2 separate regions of the Homo sapiens genome follow, and region 2 is linked to region 1. Evidence: promoter capture Hi-C in human tissues and cell types (Jung and others, 2019). All regions are on one chromosome and are shown on one strand. The core of a region is centred on a gene start or on the middle of the fragment in contact, and the rest is flanking DNA. Distances in the headings are between cores, read along the strand shown.

The links. Contacts are between HindIII fragments. The study calls those that stand out against the background at their distance.
Region 2: a contact is called between a fragment that was not itself captured here and the fragment with the promoter of SLIT2 in region 1, in 1 of the 25 tissues and cell types used here (stomach).

What each region holds. Positions count from the first base shown.
Region 1 is chr4:20,247,665-20,253,559 of GRCh38, forward strand. SLIT2 (slit guidance ligand 2) reads left to right here and starts at 4,241. Exons shown (of 37, transcript NM_004787.4): 1 at 4,241-5,895. RefSeq lists an enhancer at 5,357-5,895. The HindIII fragment of the contact is 10,378 bases long and covers 195-5,895 here.
Region 2 is chr4:20,206,053-20,211,421 of GRCh38, forward strand. LOC105374514 (a long non-coding RNA gene) reads right to left here. Exons shown (of 3, transcript XR_925450.2): 2 at 1,157-1,209; 3 at 1-209. Among named protein-coding and RNA genes, the nearest start is that of SLIT2, 43 kb to the right of the region's middle. The HindIII fragment of the contact is 4,639 bases long and covers 1,488-5,369 here.

The DNA.
Region 1 (5,895 bases), core at 2,991-5,490:
CAAGCAGTTATTCTGGCAGCGGGAAACCAACTTTACCTCTTCAAAGATTAGTTTATATTATGTGACACACATAGCACAAAACTAATTATATCTATCGCCACTCTTTTGTTCATGGGATACTGTAGGTCTGAGCAGGGCTTGATTATTGTAAGTTGATTTGTTCTTCTTGTAAAGTATCACCCTCAGCCCAGCCCTTCCCAGGACTCAATACAAGAAGTTATTGGATCATAGTAATAACTAAAGGAATATGTTATCTATTCTCATAATACAAATATAATATTTTAGAAAATTTCAGATATTAAAAGTAATAATGAAATACCCTTTATTTAATAAGCACCTAGCTCTATGCCAGGCCCTGTGCTGTTAGATTGAAAAATAATATCTTAATTTTCACAATAATCATGAGAAATAGGAATCAATGCATCCATACAAAAGTGGTATTAAACTGGAAAAAATCCCTATAAATATAACAGATTTTTTTAAAGGGTTGAGGCATATTCGGGCAGGTTGCTGATGTAATAACTAGGAAGCCCTTTCCACTTCTGAAGGCCATTTCCTTGGAAAATAAAACTAAAGTCTTATTGCCTCTGCGGAGCTGTACATCAAAATATTTTGGTGCCCCCTAGAGGTAATCAGTAATGTGCAATTGTCAACCCCCAGGAATGAGAAGCTGAAGACAATTCAGCAGCTGTTATCTATTATTCTTTGCTGCTTCATTCTCCGTACCAATGTGTCACAGATACAAACACAGAGCAGCTCTTGAGTAATGGATCTCAAATTTTAGTGAACATCAAAATCTCTTGGAGGGCTTGTGAGAACACAGCCTTCTGGCTTCTGTTCCCAGATTTTCTGATTTTGTGGGTTTGAGTTAGGGCCTGAGAAGTTGTATCTCCAACTACAGTCCTGGCGATTACGATGCTGTTGGTCCAGGGACCACATGCTGAGAACCACTCACCTAGAGAATCATCTCAAAGTCAAAGCTATGTCCAGAAGCAGGTCAGGTTTCAGTATCCTTGAAGTGCTGGTGCTGAGGACTCTAGCTCTTTACTGCTCCCTGTAGATGCCCTTAAGGAGTGTGTGCAGAGACATGACCATCTCCTGTATGAGGGTGATCATTCCTGAGGATCTATAGATTCCTTGATCCCCACGAGTTCCAGTGGATCTACAGATAAACAGTTGGGTGAAGAAGAATCAATTGAGAATTGAGGTCAGAGAACTTAGGTTCTGGTTCTAGCTCTGCCATTTAATAAGCTGCGACTTGCATGAAGACCAACATCCTCTACTGTAAGGAGTGAAATAGCAACCATCACTGTGGATGTAACTCTGTCAAATAGCTTGGAATTTAGTAGGCTTGAAACAAATTTTGGTTAAATCTTAATTTCCATTATATTAGGGTTCCATGTCTACGTTTCCAATACAAAGATATTGTGAGAAATATCAGATAATTTAAATGAAAGAAATATCAAATAATTAAAATGAACACATTGCAACAATGGAAAATAGTAACATGAAGGCAGTTAAATTCAAGGAATTAAGTTTCATGAATTTGATCAATGCAATTACTGTTACCTACCTCTGTTTAAAAAGACAGAGAACAATAATTTTTACTCTTCTTTATCTCTTTTTCGTAAATTCTCTTTTCTTCCTCCCTTTTCCCATATAACCCAACTTCACAACCTTTTTATTTCAAAAAAATGCAAAGTTTATTAGACATTTAATAACCTACACATTATTCTGATGCTTTTTATTTCTTTGCTGCATAGGTGATTGTCTACATTGTTTCCAAATTATTGTACGAACTGGATTTTTTTTTTTTTTTTGCAAGATAATAGGAGACTCGGATATTGGCTATAGTGGATTCCACTTCTGCTTAATCCAGGTCAGGATTTATGGAGACCTCATGTGGTGACAAGAGGCACCACAGAAGGCTTTCTTCAGGCTGGGTTTAACAGTGAAAGAGAAACTCAGAAATTCATATGGGAGCAAAATAATCCATAAAGAATTAAGACCTAGAAGTTAATGTTTCTGAAGCCTGCAAGGCCTTCAACAAACATCCTGCAGTAATACTAATGGAATAATACAGTAATATGTTAAAGGACAGGAGACCTGGTTGTTTATGTATGTATAAAATTCCCCTTATCAACTAAAAAGTTAATAACGCAAAAAATAGTAAGATATGCCTCTCAAGAATTAATTACAGTCTTTCTTTTTTCTGAATGAAATCCACTGAACATAGCTTCTTATTTAAATTGGCTTCAAATTTTAAAAAGATGTTTCTGTAGGCATGTTGCTATGTATGTTAGTTTCTCCTTGGTTTTACACAAAACAGAAAGTGATCAGAGATAGAATGAAACTTGAACTTATGTCTGTGAATTTCACTTATGCAACAATATCAATAATATTATTTATAAATATTTGGAATGCAGGATATGTTCTTGGAATTAAAATATGGAACAACAATTCTATGTGGTGCACAAAGTTGAACACAAACACCTCTTGTTGCTGACAAGATATTAAAGTTGTGAAATTAAATAAATTAATGTATCAGCAACCATATTTAACCACATAATTTACTGGTACACACTAAGGAAAATTCACTGAGGGTTGGGGGAGCTCCTTCCTCAATGACAGGTACTTGTTCTTTATCTCATTTTCCTTACAAGAAAATGTGACAAGGGCTTCTTTTTTCTCCTCCTCAAGGAAGTTACATAACAGACCTTTAAGCTAAAATCTAGAAGGACAAATGAGTTAATAAATGTCAAATGTTTTTGAAGGTTTTAAAAGAATAGAGCAATATAAATCTGTGGCATTAAAATGAGTAATCCTAAGAGTTCCAATTCAGTTATCAGATGGTACCCTGCCTTTGGGCGTGTCCTCGAAAAGGCTTACGTTTTCCAAGGCAGGCAAAATGAGGTAAGTAGGGGTAGCCATTATGAAAGGACATCTTAGAAAATGTTAACCAGGAAAAACGTTAATGAGGATATTGCAGAGATTTTAGGTTGAGCATACTCTTGAGTTAAAGAAATCGGTTACTTATGAGGAAACCTATTATGTGGCAGGCATAGATGCTGGAAATACAAAGAGTTGGACAGGTCTTGCTTTCAAGGAAGCTTCTAATAATTATACAAATAACTACTACAATATGAGGCTGGTATTAGGCGGGGGCTTGCACAAATTCCAGGGAAAGCTTCTTAACGTGGAAATGGGAGGAAGAACAACAATATGATGCATATTAAATCCAAGAGAAGGAGCAGAGTCATTTAGATGTCATTTCAAACTTACAGTGACATTGGCTCTTGCTGGGGGGGAAAGGGGGGCGAGAGAGGCAGCCGTTGCCAGACATACGTCACACTAAAGAGACAAGATGAAACAAGGAAATTCTCTTTCAAAACATAGCGGGGAAAAAAATATCCAGAACTGCCCTGAAATAAAGAAAACCTTCTGGTATAATGTGCGTTGCTAGGGATTTATTTTTTCCCCTCCTTTCTCTCATAAGAGAGTAAAAAATCACACAGATACGTTCAAGCCCTTAAGAGTTTTGTGAGCCTATTGAATATCCAAGACATCAACTGACCACGGTGTGGTTCAGTGTGTGTCTACAAAGGAAGGGTTAAACGGAAGGGGGTGGCTTGGAGATAGAAAGGCAAGCAAGAAGGTTGGAAAATGCTGTTTTCCAACTTGCAAAAACTGAACTTTTCAGCTCCCCAAAATACACGTGTGTGTCTGTAAGCGCAGGCAGATCTATTTCGGTAGGATTTTTCTTAAATTTAAATCATAATTTCTCTGTTTCTGTCTCTCTGTCTCTTGCTGCGCTGCAAAGAGTGAGCAGCCCCCTTAAGGATCGCGTGGCAAAAGCTGCAGGAGAGGCACTGGCAGGGCTGTTTATTTATGAGCCGCGTTCAAAGCCGACCTCTTCCCATTCTCCCACTGCAAACGACTATCTCCGAGCCCAGGTCACCTCTGGGGCCAAGGAGTTGGGGGCTGGGGCTCGGGTGGCTCCTTCTTCGGGCCAAGTTTGCCCGCGCGTGGGAGCGAGGGGGCGAGCCAGGGCGCACGGGAACGCGCGCCGCCAGCCGCCGCCTCCGCCCAGCGCTGGCAGCCCCGGCCTCACCTCTCCCCTCTCCCCAGCGAGGTGCGGGCTCCCAGAGCGGAGCCAGGGGGCGGGCCTGGGCCTCGAGGGGCGGGGTCAGGGGGCGGAGGCTCGGGCGGCTATATAAGGCCCGCGCCGGCTCAACTTCGGACTTGGTGTTATTTATTTGGGAAGCGCCCGGACGGCGGAGCTTGGCGGCGGCGGTGGTGGTGGCTGCCGCAGACTGTGGTTAAAAAAAAGAAGGCGGCGGCGGCGGCGGCGGCGGAGGCGGAGGCAGCTGCGAGGCATGGGAGCGCCGAAGCGCCCAGGCGCAGGCCGAAGCTGCCGCGCTTTCTGGGCACGGCGGGAGTGCTGAGCAGAAAGGGGAGCGCCGGGGGCCCGCAGCCGGCTCCGGAGGCGCGGGCCGGGTTTTTGTTTGGCTACGCTGAGCGCCAGTCAGCCCCAGCGAACAACTCCAGTTACGACAACAACCCACCTTCCTTCCAGACAAGCGAGACTTGGGCTGCTGCGTCCGTCCTATTGTTTAGACACTTGCCAGGGGCTCCGGAGTCGGCAGAGCCACCGAGTCCCCGCTCTGAGTCGTCGCCCTCCCTCTCCCCGACCTCGCTCCCTGGAGCGGGAGGCCAGGAAAGCAGCGGGAGAGGGGAAGGGGCTAGAAGGAGAAGGACTACCCGGGACTGCGGCCGCCGCGTCAGGTGCAGCGCCAGGAGCCGGGCGGCGTCGCCACGCCGGCAGGGGTACCGCCACTGTGGCCTTGGGGGACGGAATTCAAAGCCTGGGAAAAGTTGCTGCACTTTGAGAAGGACGAACCACTAGTGGGAGACCGCCGGGGGCCGGCCGTGGCTCTGCGCCCTCCGGAACCCGGCTCTTGTTTCTTCTACCTTTGCCATCAGGTGTCTGCCGCGGAGCTGCGGCTTATCTGGGAGACGAGCGGGGTTGACACGCGCGCACACACTACTGCCATTCAGCTGCCGCCTGGCTCTGCCTGGAGTAGTGGATCCCACCCGCCCACCTGCCACCGAGCCATTCTCCAGTACGCCCCAGCAGGACGCTGACACCTCCAACCTTGGCCTTTGCCTTTCCACTCCTTCCGGTCTGCCTGGTTTTTAAGTCCGCCCCCAGTCAGTCCCCACTCAGTCTTCGCAGCAGCTCTCATCCTCCACTTGGCCTCTTGGAGTTCCTCGCCGGAGTGCTGACTAGTGGATATTTCTGCCCGGCTGCGGCGGCCCGACTGCCCTTTTGTCTTTTCTGCGTGACCTCGGGGCAGGTCCTGGTGCAGAGCGTCGCCAAGGACGCCGAGCGGGAGGCGGGATTGCCCAGACATCCTTCAGCGAAGTGCATGTGTGTTTGTAAACCATCGTTGGCTGTCGGGAGACCGCGAGGACCGGTCCAGGCTGCGGCGGAGTCGAGGGCGAGGGAGAGGCCGCGTGAGTGAGCAGAGTCCAGAGCCGTGCGCCCCCAGAACTGCGCGTCCGCCCCGTGCACCCCCGCGCGCCATGCCCAGTTGCCCCGCGCGCTCTGCTACGGGCCCGCTGGGCTTCCGCGCCTTCTAGCTTCCGGAGCCCACTTTGATCGGGGCCATAATACCTATTGAGATCCCCTCTTCTGTCTTGTACCTTCGCCACTGGCATCGGATTTGCAGAAGCGTGCGTGGGATCAGAGGACCGCCCTCCCCACAACAACCGGCCCCTGCATCTTAGCAGCCGTTGGAAGCCCCAGCTCTTTTACCGCCAAGTTCATCCTTGGGAGACAGAAGACGCGTGATCTCCTCTCCGCTGCTCTTGGGGTCTCCTTGCAGCCCTGGC
Region 2 (5,369 bases), core at 2,557-5,056, 42 kb before region 1:
GCCTACAGAGGGTCAGGATCACCAGTATCACTGCCTTCCATCTCCATGTCTTGACCCACTGTAAGGTTTTCCAGGGCAGTAACACACATGGAGGGGCCATCTCCTGTGATAACGATGCTTTTTTTTTTTTTTCTGTAATACTTCTCAAAGGACCTGCTTGAGGCTTTCTTCCCGTTAGCTTTTCTTTTTGTAAGTAGAGGGAGTAGATTCTAAAATAACAATAAAAAGTGTTTATAGTAAATACATAAGCCAGTAACAGTTATTTATTACCATTATCAAGTATTCTGTCCCATATGTAATTGAACACCCCATAGTAGTGTACAACTGGCCGCACAGTAGGTTAGTTTATATAAGCATCACTACAAACATGTGAGTAAATGCATTACCCTACAATATTACAATATCTACAATGTCACTAGGTGATAGGAATTTTTTAGTTCCACTATAATCTTGCAGAACCACTTCTACAGATGCAGACTGACATTGATAGAAACATCATTGTGTAGCACTATCTGTAATCTTACATATATATACACGCATATATTGTTTGTTTCTCTGGAGAACCTTAACACAGCTCTCATGGGCCAACAGCCAAGTCACATTACAATAGAGGCCTGCATGGACAGGTAAGAGATGCTAGGAAGCCCTCCCTTTCTCCCTCCAGCAAAAGGTTGGGATGGGGCATGATTTTATCATGCAATGTATTTAAGATTCCCCACCCCCATCTCATCCTGAGTCTAGTGGCAACAGGGTAGAAAGAGGAGACAAACCCTCCAAATTGGATAAAATTTAGTTCCTACCAAGATGACAGAATTATACATTCAATTGACTTGCAGAAAAACAGAAAATTCAGTTTCTGGAATACTAGGATTTACTTAATACTTATGTATATTAAGCAAAATTATCAGAAAGTTGAAGAGTAATTAATAATAATAGTACTAAGAGATTTAATTTGATAGGCAAGTGGTAAGAAGGGGATAAAAAGTATTTAAATAATATAATTAATAAGATTAATTCAAAATATAGAACTTAAAATAAACAACCTTCAATAAAGAGAAGATTTTTTAAGTATCCATAAGATAAAGAAAACATATAAGCCACAAAAAAGTTACATTCATGCTTCAAATTAGGAATTGAATTATTTACACTGTCTTACCTTGAGGCAATATAAGAATCACAAAATTGTAGACAACACAACAATGTTGAAAACTGTAAAACAAAACATAATAAAAGAAGTAATCAAAATTACATTTACTAAAATCTTTAGAAAATAAAGTTAATGGTACAAAATGGGAAAGGATTGACAGTGAACACAAACTCAGGAAAATACATTAAGCTAAATTCTTACACTCTATTCCTAAAAATTAAATTCAGTTAACTAAGTATTCAACTGAAAATTGGGGGAAAAAAGTGACTGGGAAAAGAAAACAGCATGAAAAAATTAATAACATAAATTCAAAATCTCCTTCGTTGAAAATAAGAGTTCACAGCAAGAGAGAAGCATAAAAAGAAAAATAAGAGCACAAAAATAAAAACTTGAGAATGAAAACACAAGGTTAACTACAGATTTTTAGTAAAATAAAATAATAAAACATTTAAGCTAAATCTATATTTGAAATATTCTCATATATCTGAAATGTACGACATCTTGGAAAATGCTACTAAAATTGACTCAAGAAAGGGTAGAAAACCTGCATAAATTAATTACTTATGATTAGAAATTATATTCAGTTGCATGTATCAGAAACCTGACTGCCATGACTTAACCTAATAGGGGTTTATATTTCTCACACTGTAAGGAGTCGTGAGATGGGCAATGAAACTCAGGTATGTGTTTCTTTCCTCTTTAGGGAGATGGCTTTTATCCACATGCTCATAGTAGAGCTGCTGCAACATGAGTACCCTGCCTATATACTAGGCAGAAAAGGCAGAGGGCCCAGGACTACAAATAACTGCCAAATGAGTTTAATTTTTTATTAAGGAAATAATAGTTTTCTACGAAGCTCCACCCATCCACTTCCATATCACCAATCAAAGCTATTTTACATGGCTACCCTGGCTAAAAGGGAAGTGCAATTTTTTTTTTTTTTTAACTCTGAGGACATTGTTTTAACTCTGAGGACATCATAATCAACTCAGAATTCTCTACGTAGTGAAGGGATGGCTATAAGGGAAGGAAAAGATACTGGTTGGCTACCAAAAGATCTATTATACCATCAAGAAAATTAAGCAAGTTGTAAACAAATAAAACAAATATTTTAACTGTATATCCTGGGACAGCTAGTTTCTTCACAACTTAAAATTTCTATTTGTTTAATATGTAAACAGTTTCAGAACCCAAATAAGGAAAGGAAGTTTACCAATTCTTTTTACAAAGCTATTGAAGCAATGAAACCTAATCTGAAAAACTGTAGAACAAAAAAGAAAATGATTTTAAAAGTTTATTTGGTAAGATAGATGAAAAATCTCTAAACAAAAACCTAGCAAATTGCATATAAAATAATATATAAAAGAATACTATGCCATGAATAACATGCTTTATGCCAGGATTACAATGATGATTAATATCAGAAAATGGATGGATGAATAGATAGATGCATGATAGATGATTAATTGATAGAGAGAGAGAGAGAGACAGAGACATCACCATATTAACAAGTCAAAGGAGAAAAGATTTGGTCATTTTAATAGATGATAGCATTCAATATCATTTCTTCTATGGTCTGAATTTTGGTATCCCTCCCCTAAAATTCATTAGTTGGGACCTAATACCCAGTGTGACAGTATGAACAGACAGAGTTTTTTCAAAAGTATTAAGCCATGAGAGTTCCACCTTCATGAATGAGATTACGGCCCTTATAAAAATGTTGAAGGGTTCAATCTTTCCTTTTCACCATGGGAGCATGCAACAAGAGACTCTGTCTATAAAGCAGAGATGGCCCCCACCATATACCTACTTTGCCTGCACATTTATCTTGGACTTCCCAATCTCCAGAATTGTGAGCAATAAATTTCAATTGTTTATAAACTCCCTAGTCTAAGGTATTTTGCTATAGCAGCCCAAACAAACTAATATGATTTCCTAGTAGGGGAAAAATAATTCTTAAACATAATAGGCTAGCTTAAACCTAGAGGCAATAACACACTTGATGAAATATTGTAATTGTTACCATGAGTGGGAAGAAAAAATATCAGGATGCCTTTTCTCCCCAACGTAACATTTCTACCAAAGAAGTAGCTGGTTCAATCACTACTTTGTTAGCCTTTTTTTTAAGTTAAGTATTAGAATAGATAGGACATAAATTCAATAATTTGCTGATGATATAATTATTAGAAAACCAACAGCAAACATATTAGAAATAGTAAGAATGTTCAAAGTGATGATAAATTGGGAGTTCAAAAATAAGAAAAACAGATTTCTTAAAGACTAATATTAGAAAATATGGTGAAAAATTATCTATTTATAATAGCAGACAAAATTTTAAAAAGTGTAGATAAATCTAATGAGAATATGAGATATCATTGGAAAAAATGTCTACAAATCTCACTGAAAACATATGAAAAACAGTTTAAATAAATAAAAAAGAATAGTGTATTATTTCCTAGCAAAGATCAATATAATACAAATATCAATAGCTCCCCTATTCAAATAGTCATCCCAAATAAAAGTTTCAAGAATATATCTTTAATTTGCAAAACCATTTCAAGAAGTCATTTGTAAAGATAACATGAAAATAAGAAGAAAAATTTTGACAAAAACTGGATTATTTAAGGGACCTTTTCCTTCCAGTTATTCGAAACACCTTATATAGCTAAATATCAAAAATGTTTAGAACTGCTGTAAATAGTTTGGTGCCAGGGGAAAAACATACATTAGAATGGAATGTATTGTTTTCTAGAAAAAAGAAAGAAGAGAATAGAATCTGTTTTACCCTTTATGCAAAATGCATTCTATAGAAAGCTTTGTTTAAAAAAAAAGAAAAGAAAAAAGGAAACAAGAAAAGGGGAGAGGGAGACAGGCAGGCAGGGAGGGAGGCAGGGCAAAAACATAGGAAGAAAATATAGATCAATAGTAATAAAGTCCTGGAGACTGAGAAAGATCTGAACATAGTACAAATGACAAAAGTCACTTTAAACGTTTAGATAAATGTTGTAATATAAAATGTCAATGTATAAAATATTTAAAACCTCTATATGAAAGACATAAACAAAGAAAGAAATGATGAACAAACTGGGCAAGGGCCACCTTCAATACATTATTTATAGAAAAAACTTTCAAATCAATAAAAAGTCAACCACCCCAATAGAATAAAAAATGACTATGTATTTTACAATACATAATAAGTATATCTAGATGGACAGATAGATAATTTCCAGCTTTTCTCATATTACAAATGATGTGGTTGGAAAATTTCTTGTTCAAGTCTCCCAGTGACAGATGTAAGAAATTCTGAAGGATGTATACCCAGGAATGCAACTGCAGATTTGAAAGGTTTGAATATCCTCAACCTTACTATATCATGCTAATTGTTTTCTAAAGTGTTTGTACTAATGTACACTCCCACCTGCTGGGACTATGAACACATTTACTTCCCTCTAAAGTAAAGTCTGGTATTTTCAGACTTTTTAAAATAGGCCCATCTGTTAGAACTAAAAAGTATCATTGAGAACTTCATTTACTTTTCATACATCTAATGATGTCAAGAATCTTTCATATGTTTATTGATGATTCCTACTTTCTGTAAAATGCCTATTTATGCCTTTGTCTTAGGAGTGAGTTTTTTATTTCAAAATATGTAGGCGTTTAATATTTGTGATTCCTAAATCAATTACATTATGGACAGAGAATGTGGTCCAAATGATACCAGTTATCTGAAAATGTTTAAGACTTGCTCTATGGCCTACGCTTTATGACATGGGTCAGATTTATAAATGTTCATGTGAGTTGGGAAAGAATAAGTGTGTTGAGTCAAAGTTCTCTATTTTATCCTATATATGTGCTTTAGATCAAGCCTATCTATCACTTTTTTTTGAGATTATTTACTTGATCTATCCCATGCTAAAAGCAGTATGCTCAAATATCCAAATACGTCGATATATTATCTGTTTCTTCTTGTAGATGTAGAAATCTTGCTGCAGTAAATTTTTAAGCTATGATACTCAATCTATGTATGTTTAGAATTATTGTATGTTTATGGCCCTTGATCCTTTATCATTAGCTAAGGCACACCAGTTTTATCTAATTTAACATAAGTCTAATATATTAGTTTGTATCATTTCTCTTATGGCTATTCTTACTCGTATGGTTAAAGATGTATATGCGGTAAACAGCAGATTGTATAAGATATATCAAAGAAGATCAATAAAGC